Linked DNA regions of Homo sapiens: regions 1 and 2 are each linked to region 3. The links are contacts of gene promoters, found by promoter capture Hi-C in human tissues and cell types (Jung and others, 2019). All regions are on one chromosome and are shown on one strand. Each heading gives the region's core, a stretch centred on a gene start or on the middle of the fragment in contact. The rest is flanking DNA. Distances are from core to core; before and after follow the strand shown. Region 1 has its middle 44 kb from the start of STIM2-AS1. Region 2 has its middle 26 kb from the start of STIM2-AS1. Region 3 holds the start of CCKAR (cholecystokinin A receptor).

Region 1 (3,917 bases), core at 279-2,778, 330 kb after region 3:
AGAGCATAAAGCAATAATTTTTAATAACAACTATATCACTCATTAAAATTATCTTCTCCTTCTCATCCCAACACTGTGTCAAACAGGAATCTGCTGTGGATGGCATTTGCCAATAAGAAATTGTGGCTTTGGCTTTAGAAAAATCCAGATCAACTTTTTGTGGCCAAAATTCACCAGAAATATATTTAACTCTCTCCTTTCCTTTAATCACAGAAGCTTGGCCCAAAATGCTGATCTTTCCTGGAGCTGGCCATTCTAGCATTACATGGGTGTTCCCCATAGAAGAGAACAATCAACAAGATTAAGTTACTCTTGAGTTCTTAATTGATTTTCCAGAACTTCCTCTTACTACCACAAAACACAGCTTTCTGAGCAATGCATTCAGTTGAGCCTAATCCTGTTGGGAACTTTAGTGAACAAGACACATTCTGGAAATAAACATGATTTCACATGTAAATAACTGATACTCTTGACCTCCCCAATAACCCTTACCAGGCTGGTGCCAAAACAGGTTCTGTGTTCATGTTACACACTCTGAGAATGGTTTAAATGCTCTTCCTCTCCAGAGTTTTGTTGTACAAAATATGTACTAGAAAAAAAGAGGCCATTCTGACAGGACTCGTCAGTGCCTTGACATGAAAAGATTTTGGTCAGGCTAATTACAGTAATTGTATTTAGTCATTCTGACTTGGTATAATTTCCTGTCTTGTCGGTAATGTATAGTTACACCTAAACAAAACAGAGTTAATCTCTTTTAAGTAAGAGATGGCATGGCTCCTTTGTAGTGTGCGTATTAACCTAAATGGGAAAGCCTACATAGGACTAGGTTCTAGTTCAGGAACACTCCTGCCTTGGAATACCCCCCGAGGGCCTGCAGAGCGAATGAATGCTCCCTGTGTGTGAGTTCCACAGAACTGAAGCACCATTCAGAGGAGTTCTCTCCACAGGCCTTGTATCAAGGGTCAGGAAACTTTTTTCTAAGGGCCAGGGAGCAACCCTATAAGGCTTTGTGAATCACGTGCCTTTGGTTATACCTCTCAACTGCCATTGTAGTTCAAAGGCAGTCACAGACACTAGGTAAGGAGAAGATGGGCATGGCTGTGTTCCAACAAAACTTTACCTATAAAAACAGGCTTTGGGCTAGATTTTACCCAGGGGCTTGTAGCTTGCCATCCCTCACTTTACTTTTTTTATGGAGCAATTGCTACATTACACCGCAATTATCTGTGATTTGCCTGTCTCCTCCACAAACCTACGAAGATTCTGCACTGTGAAATGTTTTCACAAAAGAAGTCCAATCATTGGGTAACCCATTGTAAAAATAACTGATTCTGGCAGAGGTTTTCAGTGGATAAGAAAACAAGTGGGAGAGTTTAATGAAAAACAGGATATTTGCATAATCCCCAAATATCACCCCACAACATGCATATAAATTCCAAAGGGGGAAAATCGTAAATTTACAGTGGAAAAACCTGGCAGAAATCCCGTCAATCAAATGATCAAAGTTAATATACCTGATAATGTGATAAACCAACACCAGGTACCTCTGTGGGATTCCTGCTAAAAATAAATAACTTGGATTCAATCATGAGAAAACATCAAACAAACCCAGGATGAGGGGCATTCTACATATTAAGTTGGTGCAAAAATAGCTGCAGTTTTTACCATGACTTTTCATGGCAAAAACCACAATTACTTTTGCACAAACCTAATACATGTCAATATCATGAAAGACAAAGAATGAGGAACTGTTCCAGATTAAAGAATGGAAAAAAAGCTGGGTGTACTACATTTTAGTAGTATAAAAGTGGTGCCTGCCTGTTCAAAAATATTCCAATCATATGAAATTTTTTTAAAGTTAAAAATAAAAATCCCCACTCTCTGAGACAAAACCGCTGAAAATAACTTGAATTTTGGGCTTCTAGATTCTACGTGCTTCTGGGTCCCTCACTATGCTACTTTAGTAGGAGCAGAGCGATGTACTATCAGGCATTTTAACAAGTTCACCGGCTGATGCTTATGCTCTTTACTCTAAAGCTTGAGAGACCTCTTGTCTTTGACCTTTCTGTTAACACAAATTGTGTGTGTATGCATATAGTTTTGCACATACACTCTTGTAGAAATTAAACTCATACCCACATGCCTAAATGGAATCCACAACCAAACTGAATGCTGCCTGGCTATCTTGACTCAATGATCAGTCATTGATACCCCCTCTCCCGCACCCCGCCGGCAGCTTAGGCAGCAACAGCTCATACTTTTACACAGCTGTTTAATATTCCCCAGAAGGGATCAACAAACGTCCTTTAACCAACCCCCACTAATAGGCATTAGTGTTGTTTTCAGTTATTTAGAGCTGGTTTTGGATCCCACCTTGCCCACTTGGTAGTTGCGTGCCCTTGGAGGAGCTGTTCAACTTTTTTTACAACTCACTTTTTTCCTGCATCTGTGAAGCTAGGCAGTCTCCCCCAGGTTGCTGTGGGGTTTGGAAGTGTTTAGCTGAGGGAAAGTGCACAACATGGTGCCCAGCACAGAATCAATCAGGGATTCAATAACAGCTGAATTTCACTCATTTTCTGACTGGTCTCATACTTTGTTTAGGGTCTAAAATATGGTATTCTAGGCTGGGCATGGTGGCATACACTTGTAATCCCAGCACTTTGGGAGGCTGAGGTGGGCGGATCACCTGAGGTCAGGAGGTCAAGACCAGCCTGGCCAACATGGTGAAACCCCGTCTCAACTAAAAATACAAAAATTAGCCGGGCGTGGTGGTGCGTGCCTATAATCCCAGCCACTTGAAAGGCTGAGACAGGAGAATCTCTTGAACCCAGGAGGCAGAGGTTGCAGTGAGCCAAGATCATGCCACTGCACTCCAGCCTGGGTAACAAGAGTGGAAACTCCATTTAAAAAAAAAAAAAATATATATATATATATATATATGAATAGTATTCTAAGACAAAGTCCCAGTTCTCCAGCTGGGATACTGTGGGGGTGTGGTTTGAAGTCCAGGCACCTGCCATGTGAATGGGGCTCTGCTTTTTGTAGTGCCAACTCTGGGCCACTGTGTGTACTGCCACAACACAAAAAAACAAGTTCAAAGCTGCTTTGGAGAACACATCTTCAAACGGTGTTGGAATTTTTTCTTTCAATTTTTATTTTTATTTACTTGTTTATTTATTTTTGAGACAGGGTCTTGCTCTGTTGTCCAGGCTGGAGTGCAGTGGCACAATCAGTGCTCACCGTAGCCTTGTCCTGCTGGGCTCAAATGATTCTCCTTCCTCAGCCTCCTGAATAGCTGAAACTACAGGCATGCACCACCATGCCTGGCTAATTTTTTGTATTTTTTGTAGAGATGGGGGTGGGAGTTGCCAGGGAGAAGGGAAGGTCTCACCATGTTGCCCAAGCTGGTCTCGAACTCCTGGGCTCAAACAGTCCGCCTGCCTTGGCCTCCCAAAGTGCTGGGATTACAGATGTGAGCCACCGCGGCTGGCCTCAATGTAAAATTTTGACATAATTTCAGACATATAAAAGATGCAAGAAGAGTACAGATTCTTTACTCGTATTCCCCAAATGTTAACATTTACCACACTTATTTTATATCTACACACACAAACACACATTTTTGTCCTGAACCTTTTTAGAGTCAGTTGTGGCTACAATGACGAACTCTTCTCAGTTTGTCTGGGACTTTCCTGATTTTAACATTGAAAGTACTGCATCTAGGACCCCCAGAAGTCTTGGGCAAACCAAGTCAATTGGTCACCTTAGTTGCCCAGGTACCCGTAAATACTTCAGTGTGTGTGTACTAAAATCAAGGACATAACCACTGTATAATTATCAAAATCTGGAAATTAGCTGTTCTGGAAAAATGCATCCTTCCTAATGTCAGGTGCAAGGTAAAGCCCAGGGCTTAGCTT
Region 2 (3,777 bases), core at 1,115-3,614, 340 kb after region 3:
AAGGCCTCACTCTGGGTGGGAAATCCTTCCCTGATCCTCCACAGGTAGAATTCTGTTTTTTCTGGAAACCGGATACCTTTTAGAATCATAGACTCTGGCATTGCAAACACATGCATGTTGGGCCTGCCAGGCTTCAGGCTGTGGCTTGTCCAACTGGGGAGAAAAAAAGAAAATATAATGCTCCAGAAGTCTACAGCTCCTTTCCTTTTCAAGACAAAAGAGTAGAAACACCGGTCCTCTTATTACTTGTCACATTTGGAATAATTAGACATTCTATCTTCCTGTTTAATGTTTAGTTTTACATGCTGTCTGGTTAGAACATTTCATATGTGTACAATAACATCTAGTGAGGTTTTAACAAATGACTTCAGAGGAAAAAGAGGAAGGAGCTGGACTGGACACCAAATGAATGAAAGGCTACCAAAAAGTTCATCAAAATCAAAACCACTCTTCTGGATGAAAACATACCCCCTCGACTATAATCCCATCACTTTGGGAGGCTGAGGCAGGCAGATCACTTGAGGTCAGGTGACCAGAGACCAGCCTGGCAAACATGGCAAAACCCCATCTCTACTAAAAATACAAAAATTAGCTGGGCTTGGTGGCATGTGCCTGTAATCCCAGCTACTAGGGAGGCTGAGACAAGAAAATTGCTTGAGTCCAGGAGGTGGAGGTTGTAGTGAGCCGAGATTGAGCTACCGCACTCTGGCCTGGATGAGAGAGCAAGACCCTGTCTCAAAAAACCAAAAACAAAACAAAACAAAAAACAAATATACCACATAAAAATCAGTGAGTGCTGAGTCAACAAAAGGAAAACAATCAAAATGTAAGTAAGCTCTGCCCACTGCCATCAAGGAGGTGAAATCGTAGTTGCAGACACACACACAGACAAGCGAAGAAAGACTTTACATTGCCAGGTAACAGATATATTTAGGTTGACATGAGGAATCAGACTTCACAAGTGCCAAGCTAGAAGACGGCACAACAGAAAAATCAAGGATGCAATGCATACACAAGAATCAGCAGGAAGAAAGGGGTCCTTTTTTGGGGAGTGTGCGTCAGCTTTATTGAGGTATAATTTAGGAGCAGTAAATTCACCCTTTTTAGTGTATATTTCTATGAGTTTTGATAAATACATAGAGTCATGAAGTCATATTTCTACCAACACAAAAATTCCCTTGCACTCTTTGGTAGTCAACTCCTCTGGCCACTCCCCAGCCCTTGGCAACCACTGTCCCTATAGTTTTGTCTTTTCCAGAATGTCAAATAAATGGAATCATTCAGTCAGTAGCAGTAAAGGTGAGATTTAAATCTTAAGCAAAGAGGAGCTTCTTAGAGCTGAAATGTTTCTAAAGCATCTTAAAGCAGATGGAGCTGTTCGTAAAGGAAGCTTGTGCTACAAAAGCTGCCATGGATAATGGAACTTGTGCAGGTTTGTTACTTCCACACAATGTGTCGCTAAACATTCTGTTGCCTCTTAGTGGCTAGCCAGGGAGTTCCCAAAGCCCCAGCCAGTAGGTGGGTTCACAGAGATTTACTGATGACTGCCTTGTGCTAGGAATTATACCAAGTAGGCTTTAGAGCTGTGGCTATATGTTGGGCTGTCTGCTCAGCCTATACTTTTATGTAGAAATCTTCCCCACTCAGAGGTGGTGATATGGTTTGGATCTGTGTCCCTGCCCAAATCTCATGTCAAATGGAAATCCCCGATGTTGGAGGAAGGGCCTGGTGGGAGGCAACTGGATCATGGGGGCAGAGTTACCCCTGTTGTTCTCGTGATAGTCAGTGAGTTCTTATGAGATCTGGTTGTTTATAAGTGTATGGCCCCTCTCCCCCTTCCTTCTCTTCCTCCTGCTCCAGCCATGTAGGATGTGCCTGCTTCCCCTTTGCCTTCTGCCATGATTGTAAGTTTCCTGAGGCCTCCCCAGCCATGCTTCCTGTACAGCCTGCAGAACCATGAGCCAATTAAACCTCTTTTCTTTATAAATTACTCAGTAGTTCTTTATGGCAATGTGAGAATGGACTAATACAGGTTGGTCTCCCAGAGCCATGTGTGTGCTCTATGATAATGCCCTGTGGTCATAGCTGGTTAGGCCACAGGTGAATCTCTGACTTCATTAATTCAACAAATATTCATTCATTTAACAAATATTGAGTGCCCATTATGTATCATGGACAGTGTTGGGGGTTGGATCAATGCCTAGACTCAAGCTGGGGGCATCAGATTTTCTCTCCTGGAATTTTAAATTGGGCATAAAAGACAATCGTCAATCTGGGCTGGTGGCTATGGGGGGCGGGGGTGGTGCACACACCAATATAGTGAAGGTCTGGTTTGAGGAAAGATGTGCAAAGAAGTGGAGATGGGAGACTCTGGGGTCCTGAAGAGAGACCAAAACTACTCACCCCCAGTCCTTCCTGCCTTTCTGGCTACTCGTTTTCATTCTTCTTCATAGGATTCTCTCCTCATCCATTGAGGGATGATGTTTCTCAAGGTTTTTCCTCTTTTCTTTTCACTCTTAACTATTTTGCCAGGGAGACCCCATCTACGTTCATGTTTTCAATTCCATCTATACTTTGATGATGCTCACATTTAGATGGTCAAGCAAATCCCGCTCCCAAGGTTCAGACCCAGCTATCATGCTTTCTACTCAGCATCACCACCTGGATGTGCCATATTCACAAAGCTCTATGTGTGTAGAACTGAACTGATATTTGAGCCCTTAGCCCTTACTCCCTGTGGTAGGCAGAATAATGGCCTCCAAAGATGTCCACCTCTTAATCACTGAAATTTGTGAATATGTTGTCTTATGTGGCAAAAGGGACTTACTTGGCAAATGTGAATAAGTTAAGGATCTTGATGGGAAGATAATCCTGGATTATGTGAGTGAATCCAATGTAATCACCTGTGTCCTTATAAGAGGGAGGCAGGAGTGTCAGAATCATAGAGAGAGTTTAGAAGATGCAGCTCTACTGGCTTTGAAGATGGAGGAAGGGGCCATGAGCCAAGGAATGCAGGTAGCCTGTAGAAGCCGGAGAACACAAGGAAATGGATTCTCCCCTAGAGCCTGCAGAAGGAAGCAGCCATTCCAACACCTTGATTTTAGCCCAGTGAGACCCACATGGACAGCTGACATCCAGACCTATAAGATAATAAATTTCTGTTAAGTCACTAAGTTTGTGATAATTTGTTACAGCAGCAATAAGAAATGAGTACACTTCCAAAAGCTCACCCTTCTACATTTTCGATCTCAGCAGTGTCACTTCTGTTCATGCAGTTCATAAAGGCAAGGCAGAATCGTAGGAGCCATCCTTGACTCCGTTTCCCAGGTGCACACATCCACTCTCCTTCCTGAACACCTCTCGAATCTACCATTTCTTTCCATTGCCATAACCTAGTCTCAGCCACTATTCTTGATTTCTCTGGCACCTTCCTAAATAGTTGCCCTGCCTCCCTTCACCCTATTCTTTGCCCTGAAGTCAACATGAACTTCCTAAATGAAAACCTGATCATGTCACGTTTCTACTATAAACCTTCAATGGCTTCCCATTGTCCTTAGGGTAAAGTTCAAACTTTGATGTGGCTCACCAGGCTTGTGTTCTGTGATGCCTATTTTCTTCCCTAGCCATTATCTCTCCCCATTCTCTTCTTTCCTGTTCTCCCCTTCAAAATACGTATGCTGCCTATACCACATGCATTCTGGTTCTTGCATGTGAAGTGCTCTCTCTCTCTCTCTCTCTCTCTCTCTCTCTATCACTTCTGGGCCTTTGGACATGATT
Region 3 (3,842 bases), core at 985-3,484:
TAAGAGAACCACAGCAGTTGGCAAACTGAGGTATCATGCTCACCATTGTGTGGCTACAAATCTGGACTCAAATCTCAGCTCTGTTGCTTACCATCTGTGTGGTTCTAGGCACATTATGGACCTCTCTGTGCCTCTGTTTCCTCCTTAGGGAGACAAGGAAGAATCATTGCATTTACTTCATAGAGTGGTTGGGAGATAAGGTAAGATCATGGAAGGCAAAGCACTTAGTACCACATGGGGTGCATAAAAGCGCTAAAAAAATTTAGCTCTTATGATTTTCATTATCATCATTTTTGTTTGGCATAGGCAAAGAGCTATATATCTCAGCCAATCAGGGTCAGCTTAGCGACCCCATAGCCCCCAGGAGCAAATTCAACTCCTCATCTAGGGGCAGAGACCTCTCTCTCTCTCTCTTTCTGCCAGAGATGGCCCCAGCTTTGGGGAGAACAGGCTGGGAAGTGAATCCTGAGAAGAGAATCTGAAACTGCGATAGAACTGGTTTTCAAATAGCCCCTGTTCCCTAAGAAAACAAAAGAAACAACTGCAAAGAACCCTCCTCCATCATCCTCACCCTCCCTAGAAGCCAGGACTCAAGTTGTGTATAGATCAGGACACAGTCAACAGCTTCCAGAAAGGGATAGAGCAGCTTAAAGTCACTTCTGACTTCAAACAGAAGCAAGCAAGTCCCTCTTCCCTTCAAATAGAAGCAAGCAAAATCAACTGCCCCTGTGTTTTCCTATCAATTTATTTCACTCTTAGAAACTGACCTCCAACATGGATGATGGGGACCGACTTGTGGGGAACGTATAAGGATGACTGTCAAGCCAGCACCAATGTCCGTGCACACAGCCATGCACAGCCTGATGTTCTGTGATTCAGCCCTCAGCAGGGCTCCTTTGCTGTGATTGTCAGAGGTTTGGGAAGGTCTGGGGCTGAGTGGGGTCTGGGGCAAGCTCCAGAAAGAGTCACCAGCAGCAACTTACCCATGAAGTAGGTGGTGGTCTTGCAAACGGCGCTCCCGAAGATGAAATCCTTGAGCAGATTGGGGATGAGGTTGAACGGCATGCAGAAGAGACAGAGCATGAGGTCGCTGACAGCCAGGGAGAGGAGGAAGATGTTGGTGACCGTCCGCATCCGCTTGTTCCGAATCAGCACGGTGATGACCAGCGTGTTTCCCAGCACGCTGAGCAGGAATATCAAGGAGTACAAGAGAATCTGCACCGCTGGCTGCCACTCTGCAGAGAGAAACAGGAGCAAGACGGAGGGATGGAGGTGATGACAGCAGAATGCTAAAACCGAAGCCAAGGGTGAATTCCTGCCGATTTTCCCCCCACCGGGGTGTACATCACTGGACCCACGATTCCTGTCCTGGCAACATTTTGCGGAAACAAATTGAGGAAAGCAGAGACTGAATTATTTTCTTTTTAGAAGGTTGGTTTGTTAAAGGATCACTCAGGGAACCACTTTTTCTTAAGAACAAAGCTCCTCAAGTGAACAGTGATCACTTTCTTTCCTGGCTGCTAAGCATTATTTCACTTTAATCACTTCATGCTGGGTTTCCCCCCAAGAAAAGAAAACAGCTGCATGGTGACAACACCTTTTCTGCTGTGCTTGTAAGTTCAGGCTTTGACACTTGTAGTCCCTCTTGCTTCACTCAGCTTTTCCTCCCCTGCTTTTGTTCCCCCAAGTCCTATTCATGAATGCCCAACTCCCCCATGGGGGACAATAAGAATATTTGACTCTATTCTGCTTTTTAATCTCTTCTCCAAACTTCTGAACATATGACTTTATCTAGCCTTGTCTCACAATGACTTGGTTATATATATTTTTTATCAGCCTTGCCTTTGCTGATTTCTCCCACAACTCAATAGTTTCCTGAATTAAAATAACAGCTTCCGACACTTACCTTTGGAAGGACGGGGCTGATCCAAGCAGAAAAGCGTCTCATTTTCGAGCCCGAGTTCACAGGGAGGAGTGATGTTGCTTCCATTCACAAGAAGGCTGTCAACCACATCCATCCTTGCCTGCTGCTTTCCACCAAGTGCTGGAGAGCTGGTGAATTGCTCACTCCCGGCTCATTCCTCTAATGACCGAAGCGTCTCGCAGATGCAACCTGCCGTGGAGGAGCAGGGAGGGAGTGATTTCCAGGTGTGGGCTTTTTCAGCCATTCCTAAAGGCGACTTGAGTTCACCTCACTCACTCCAGCATTTGTACTCCTGTTGTGGAAAAGGCAGTGAGCACAAGCCAAGCCCGCTCCACCTTCACCCCGCCCCACCTCCCCCGGCCCTTTCCTGGGCCAGTCTTAGGGCCCTGAGTACAGACAGCCTGGCTACCCGTTAACCATTCTCAGCGTGTGGCTGCTTTTTACACACATGTGTACATATGCACGGACACACACACACACACAGAGGCTTCCCCAGTACTCCTCTATATAGGAACCCGTCACCATCCCAGACATATGCAGAAGAAAGCCCAAACCGGCTGTGTGAGACAGGAACAATTAACACGGTAACAGATCCGATAATGCAGACCATCAGGCCTAAAGAACACGGAGGGACTGTGTTCTACCTCCTTATAGAAAAGCAATTAGTGCCTTTTTAGCTTTGGAACCATGCCCGGTGGTGTGTGTGTGGACAGAACTGCTGGCTGGTTGTTAAGTTGCTACTAAACACAGTGTTGTTTCTCGTGGTCTCTGCCCTTGTTAACTAGGATTGAGGCACTTTTGAACATAGGTACCTGGGTCCTTATTACAAAAGACGTTAGTGAGATTTCCTCTTCATTCATGAAGCCTTGCATTCAGCACATCTTCATTGAGAGTCAATCATTTGCCAGGCACTTTTCTAGCATGTCAGCAAATAATGAGCAGAATTATTTCAGGTAGTAAGTACTACAAAGGGAGTAAAGCAGGGAGATGTGATGTATACAAACAGATTAGGGGCTGATTTTTTGGGGGGCGGGGACAGGGTCTTGCTCTGTTCCCCAGGCTGCAGTGGAGTGGCGCGATCATGGCTCACTGCAGCCTTGCTCCCTGGCTCAAGCAATCCTCCTACCTTAGCCTCCTGAGTAGCTGGGACTACAGGCACACACCACTAAGCCCAGCTGATTTTTTTAGTTTTAGAAGAGAGGAGGTCTCGCTATGTTGCCCAGGCTGGTCTCAAGCTCCTGAGCTCAAGCAATCCTCCTGCCTTGGCCTCCCAGTGTTGGCATTACAGGCGTGAGCCACTGCACCTGGCCTGGGGCTGCTGATTTAGAAGGGGTAGTCAGGAGAGGTCTCTTAAGGAGGGGACTGTGATCTGAGACTGAACCACAAGAAGGACAAAGTCTTGTGAAGATCCCAAGACAGCTTCTCCCAGGCAAAAGGAGGAGCACTTTTAGCAGAGGTAACAGCAAGTGCAAAGGCCCTGAGGTGGGAATGAGTGTGGCCCCATTGAGGTACAAATAGATAGAAGTAGGAGTGAGTGAGAGGCAAACAGCAGGACGTGAGATCAGAGAGGGGGGCCATCTCAGGGTCCTGGGTGTTCCATGAAGCTCTGTGGTGCTGGAAAGCCCTTCAACCTCCATTGCACAGATTATGTCCTCAGTTCAGACCCTTTGGAAAGCAGACGACAATGGCTGTGAAACCTGCGTTTCTGACGCCCTGCTTGGCTGTGCTGAGACTTGGTCCATTTGCTAGATACCCGTGGGGCTCCTTGTGTACTGACAATGCTTCCACTGGCAGAGCTGCATGCTACATCTTGCTGAGTCTCTGCCAGACACAGAGGAACTAACGCATTTTTACTGTCAGTGTGGGGCTGGAAAGACAGTGGTGCCTCTTTTCTTTGAAACCATGAAGACCACATGGT

The links. The method cuts DNA at HindIII sites, captures the fragments that hold promoters and counts their contacts. A contact is called where the count stands out against the background at its distance.
Region 1: a contact is called between a fragment that was not itself captured here and the fragment with the promoter of CCKAR in region 3, in 4 of the 25 tissues and cell types used here (H1 embryonic stem cells, aorta, lymphoblastoid cells and 1 more).
Region 2: a fragment that was not itself captured here is called in contact with the fragment with the promoter of CCKAR in region 3 in 3 of the 25 tissues and cell types used here (IMR-90 fibroblasts, aorta and liver).

Annotation. Positions count from the first base shown.
Region 1 is chr4:26,815,064-26,818,980 of GRCh38, forward strand. It overlaps a transcript of TBC1D19 not described here. Among named protein-coding and RNA genes, the nearest start is that of STIM2-AS1, 44 kb to the right of the region's middle. The HindIII fragment of the contact is 4,799 bases long and covers 1-3,917 here.
Region 2 is chr4:26,832,257-26,836,033 of GRCh38, forward strand. It overlaps a transcript of TBC1D19 not described here. Among named protein-coding and RNA genes, the nearest start is that of STIM2-AS1, 26 kb to the right of the region's middle. The HindIII fragment of the contact is 7,646 bases long and covers 1-3,777 here.
Region 3 is chr4:26,488,250-26,492,091 of GRCh38, forward strand. CCKAR (cholecystokinin A receptor) reads right to left here and starts at 2,235. Exons shown (of 5, transcript NM_000730.3): 1 at 1,907-2,235; 2 at 984-1,235. The coding sequence starts at 2,018. The HindIII fragment of the contact is 14,703 bases long and covers 1-3,842 here.